Linked DNA regions of Homo sapiens: region 2 is linked to region 1. The links are contacts of gene promoters, found by promoter capture Hi-C in blood cells and fetal thymus (Javierre and others, 2016). All regions are on one chromosome and are shown on one strand. The core of a region is centred on a gene start or on the middle of the fragment in contact, and the rest is flanking DNA. Distances in the headings are between cores, read along the strand shown.

Evidence for each region. The method cuts DNA at HindIII sites, captures the fragments that hold promoters and counts their contacts. A CHiCAGO score of 5 or more calls a contact.
Region 2: a fragment that was not itself captured here is called in contact with the fragment with the promoter of C1orf21 in region 1 in 5 of 17 cell types (megakaryocytes, M0 macrophages, endothelial precursors and 2 more); the score reaches 11.1 in megakaryocytes.

What each region holds. Positions count from the first base shown.
Region 1 is chr1:184,385,730-184,388,392 of GRCh38, forward strand. C1orf21 (chromosome 1 open reading frame 21) reads left to right here and starts at 1,300. Exons shown (of 6, transcript NM_030806.4): 1 at 1,300-1,639. C1orf21-DT (C1orf21 divergent transcript) reads right to left here and starts at 975. Exons shown (of 1, transcript NR_172919.1): 1 at 24-975. RefSeq lists silencers at 786-845, 936-1,045, 1,076-1,335. The HindIII fragment of the contact is 4,352 bases long and covers 1-2,663 here.
Region 2 is chr1:184,555,786-184,558,448 of GRCh38, forward strand. All of the region lies in intron 3 of C1orf21 (chromosome 1 open reading frame 21), which reads left to right. Among named protein-coding and RNA genes, the nearest start is that of C1orf21, 170 kb to the left of the region's middle. The HindIII fragment of the contact is 2,286 bases long and covers 183-2,468 here.

The DNA.
Region 1 (2,663 bases), core at 50-2,549:
AATAAAAATTAAAACAACAACAGTGGGATACTAGTCTTTTAATTTGAAAAAAAAAGGGGTGGAGAAAGGGAAAACCAGTTTTCAAAAAAGGCCAATTTCCTAGACATTAGTGGTTGATTACTAACTCATTTCATTAAACTAAATTATGAATTGGCTTTTCTCGTCAGTGTCACCACTCTGATGGCGTTCTTTTCCATTTTCCATCTTCACCCTGGCCGAATGTGGGAAATGATCTGGTTTGTGCATAATCCGCGAGGCCCAGGGAGGATCTTTTGCCCCTATTGTTTTCTTGGGTGTTCTCACTCTGGGGGCCTGACATTCCTCGCGTGTCTAAGGCAATGAGGGAGCAGTGAAGCGCGGGGAAGCCGCACAAAAGACATCCAAAGGCTATCAATGGAAAAAGATCAATTAGGTGCACACAAGAAACACCCAATATGCCAGGGAAGAGAAAAATACCCTTTTCCAGAGGGTGGGAAATTGATTGAGCTTCTGTGAGGGTCCACAAAGAACTGGACGGATGCAGTGGTGGATGGCGATCTCTCTGGACCACTCCGGACGCGCCCAGCAGACGCAGCCTACGCCTTTAGGTCCTAGGAGGCTGAGAAGGGTGGGGAGAGGGGGGCAGCACGATCTTGTGTCTTTCCTCCCCGTGCCGCCTCTACCGAATCGCGGATGCTTCATTAATCTTGCAGGCGCCGCAGCTCGGGTCAGTATGGAGGCGGATCGGTGGCAGAGCCCGGGCCTCTGGGCTGCGCCCGCCCGTTCAGCCTGGCCCGGGAGGGGAGCGGCCGCGCGGTGGGCCAAAGACGCCCGGCCTTCCCTCCGTCTGCTTCCAGCAGGCACAGCCGGGAGGCTGGGCTCAGGGGCTGACCCGAATCTCCCCTAGAGCTGGGCCCACCCGGCTGCCCCCCGAGCAGCCTCGCCGCTCCCACGCCACCGCCCAAGTGACAGGCCCGGGAAGGCCGGACGGGACGCAGTCTTCCCGCCGGGGTCTTCCCTCCGGCTGGCCGGCCGCTGCAGGGCGCGCGCGCACACACGTACACACACACACACACCTGCCCACACACACACACACACACACACACACACACTGCCGCCTCCTTCCCGCCCCGCAGCCCTAGCAGCCCCCAACCCGCTCCCCAGCGCGCTGCGCCCCGGCGGCCTCCGCAGGCCCCGCCCCGGGGAGGAGAGCCAGGCGCGCGCGGGAGCTAGGCTCGGGGAGGGGCCGGCGGTGGGGGAGTGTCTGCTGCCCCCGCCCCTCGAGTGAGTGACTGAGCGAGGAGCTCCCCTCCCTCGCTCGCTCCTCGCAAGCTCCCGCTCGCTCCCTGCCCACTCCCGGGGGGACGTTCCGTGCCGCGGCCGCCGCGGCCGCTGCTTCTTTCACACTTTAGTTGGGAGCTGCGCGCCGCGCTCAGTTACTGGAGAGCTGGCCGCGCGCCGCCGCCTCCCGCACGCTTGCACGCGGGCCCGGCTTCGGGGTTTTGGGTTCTTACTCCAAGCGGCGGGGAGGAGGGGGAGCCCCGGACACACTGTGGGGAGGAGGAGGAAGAAGAGGAGGAGGGAGGAAGAAAAAAGACGAGGAGGACAGGGGCGGGGGGCGGGAGGCTTGCCACCTTCAGCCCCCCCGCGAACGCCCAAGGTAAGTGTGAGCCATTGCCTGCTCTGGGGCGGGGGGAGCTGGCGGTGCAGCCCGCCCCGGCTCGGCTACCCGGGCATCCCCGGGTGGGCAGGGAGGGAGGCCTGCGGGGTGTCTGCCGCACGGAAGGGATGGGAGCCGCGGTCGTGGCGCTGCCTGCGCGGGGCCCGGGCCGGGGCTGCTGCTGGTGCGGGGCTGGCGGGGTTGCTGCCAGGGACGGAAGCTGGGGTGGGGGAGCCGCGAGGGGCGTCTGCCGGCCTGGGCGGAGGGGCTGGGATGTGGTCGGGGCTGCTGACGACTTTCGTCACATCGAGGCCTGGGTGGCTGGTGTTAGACACCCCTCCCTTCCCACCCGCACCCTGCCGCCCTCAGCCTTCCTGCTCTCCTCTAGCTTTGCATGTAGCCACCGTACTTTGCAAGCCAGAGCTTGAAAGGAAAAACACAATTTAGGATCCTTTGCTAAGTATCCAAGTCCCTTCTCTCGCTCCGACTGATTGATGTGTTTGTGTGGGTGGTTTGACCCCCGGGATTTCTGAAGTTTTGACCTTTTTGGGGTGGCTCGTTTCGTTGCATCTGTTTGCCCACCTCGGTGTATTTATTATTCGTGCCCATGCGAGGCAGCCAGAGGGTGCTTGGTTATTGTACACGAAACAGATTTCACTCTCCTCTGCAGGCAGTTCGCGAAGTGCCGCCGCCGCGGCTGCCTTTGGTCTGCTGGTTAATGTCCTTTCCCTATCATCCACCCTGCTCCCTCCCTCTACGGAGGGTTAGTTTTTGTTTTTGTTTTTGTTTTTTCCTTTCCACTTACTGTTTGTGTGAGAGAAGTCCTGGGCTTAAGGGCTCTCAGCACTCGTTCATTTCTCTTCTAAAGCTCTGAATGGCTCAGGCATGTCGGTAAAATTTGGGGTGGTCCTCTTTGCTCCAAGAGTTGCATGGCCAAAGATAAAAATATGCACACATAAACACGCATTAATTCTGAGAGACGGCAAGCAGTTTGAGAGAGAAATAATTTGTTTTCAATAGGAAG
Region 2 (2,663 bases), core at 76-2,575, 170 kb after region 1:
CTTCTGACTTAGCTAAACAAGCTTCTGGCAGGAAAAATAATTTCCCTGGCACAATATGGTGCCTTATGCCAATTACCTCTGCGAGGATCCGCCCACTGGCCCTCCAGGCCATCTGGACAAAAGGGATCCCTGAGGAGATCTCACTGTAGCCACAGGCTGGGACTCCTGCTAGAGGGAGATAAAGCTTTACCATTTCCCTTCTTCTTTGTCCTGAACTGTACTCTAGAACGATCTGTAAGAAATGTCCTAATAGGTAATTGCTCTCTCCTCTCCCTCACCACCCCCCCAACCCCAAACACACACACAACACACACACATACACACACTGAGAGGCATCCACAGTGTTCACCACAGTATGGATTCTCATGGGGTTTTATTTGGCTTCTTGGCCAAATAAGCTGATGCAGGTACTTGTTGGATAACACTGTGGGGTGGGTCAGTAGCAGAGGATGTGAGTCAGGCTCCCAGTTTTAGAAAAGGAACCTGCAGTGCCTGCTGACAGGCTTTCATACCAGGTATACTCCTTGCATATTATCAAAGCATATCCAAAAACCCATTCTTGCTTCCAGAGCAAAAAGAATCAGAGAGCCTCTGCTGGTGAAGGAAGTTCTGTTCCAGAAGGCTGTGTCTGTCATGGACCCAGGCAGAGGAGAAGAACAGGAGCCTCTGCCAGAGGCCAGGCCAAGCCAAAGAATGGGAATCAGAGGACAGTCCCCTGATTATTTAAACACAAAACAGGAAGGAAGGAACCCTCCACCGTCTTGGCCACCATTGTGACCACTGCCCATTATTTTTTCAGATTTATGTGGTCAAATAATGATTTTAAATAGAAAATCTTAAAGCTATTATGTTTTATTTTGGAACTATTCCACATGTTGAGGAAGAATGAAGGAAGGGGAAACAGAATCAGACTTCTAAAGAGTGGAAAGGTGATATCTGTATCATATGACCAAGCCTAGGGAAAAACACATGAGCCACACTCACTTTTTGAAAATCTGATCCTTATTGTTAAGGAGGGTGACTATAATTTTAGAAGGGAAAAGATGAATGGAAGACTGTCTTGGCTTAGAAAACCCTTTTCTATTTTTTGTCCAACTGAATCACTCTGATAAAAGCGGCCTGAGCATCACAAGACTTAACTAACCTTTATGTCATTTCCCCTCCCACTCTGTTCCCAAAATGGCTGGTATTTTTTTATATTCATTTTTATCTTGCTCCAAACAATATGTAGTTTCTCCTCATTGACAAACATTCTGTCAACTCGTGAATTATTGCTGATTCGTTTGCATGTGTGTGAGCTGCTCTCTGCTCCCACCTTTGCACTATCAGATGGAATTTTCCACGTATATGTCTTAGCCTCCTGACGCTCATTAATGTCAATGTGGGGGTCATGAACTGTGCCATTATTGTTCTTGTAGTGTTTAGTTAGCCTGAGAAGCTCAATTTGTGTGTATGTGTGTTTTTTTCTTTTTTTTAATTCAATAGGTTTTGTGGGAACAGGTGGTGTTAACTTACATGGATAAGTTCTTTAGTGGTGATTTCTGAGATTTTGGTGCACCCATCACCCGAGCAGTGTACACTGTACCCATTGTGTAGTCTTTTATTCCTCGCCCCACTCCCACCCTTTCCTCTGAATCCCCAAAGTCCATTGTATCATTCCCATGCCTTTGCATCCTCATAGCTTAGCTCCCACTTATGAGTGAGAACGTACAATGTTTGGTTTTGTATTCTTGAGTTACTTCACTTAGAATAATGGTCTCCAGTTCCATCCAGGTTGATGTGAATGCCATTATTTCATTCCTTTTTATGGCTGAATAGTATTCCATGGTATATACATACCACATTTTCTTTATCCACTTGTTGATTGATGGGCATTTGGGCTGGTTCCATATTTTTGCAATTGCTAATTGTGTGAGAAGCTCAATTTAAAACCTCATTCCCTTCAAGTTTCAGTTTCCATTTAGGAAGTACTTAGATTGACTTTGATGACCTTTGGTTATATATTAGTTATTTTCAGTTATTTTGTTTTAACATAAAATACCACCAACAACTCGTTGGCAGTACAACCAGATAATGTAGCTGATGGAGCCATTCATTCTAGATAAAATCACTGTGATTTGGGCACAGCTCTGCAGATGTGAAGTGGGGAATTCCTGTGGAACTTGACTGGCATATGCAGTTGCCCTTAACAGGTTTCATTGTGATAAACCCCTGTCTTTTGTATGAATTCAGGCACATGTCTGTATGCAAAGTCTCATTTATATCCTGCTTTACCGTTTTGGTTTTCAACATGGTAAGAGCAAAGGGTGGCTCTCTACAGGCTCAGTTTCTCCAGCTGATTTTCTGTCTCCTCTTACTCACCACTTCTTATTAATTCATTAGCAGCCAGTACAGTAGAAGTCACCTTAGCTTTCTGTTTCCCTTTCCTACCAGCAGCCTCTTCACATCTCCTTCAAAACTCACCAATAAGCTTCTACCATGTATGTCACAGAATATAAAATCTTAATGTTCATCAGTAAATTATTCATGATTTCTATGGCCCTGATTTGTGTAATGACTGCTAATGCTTTCAGAACATTTGATCTTGACAAGGTGAAAAATCGTGCTGTTTTAAAAAAATTTTCTAGAGTAGTTGCTAGGATTTTTTAAAGCACACCTATCTT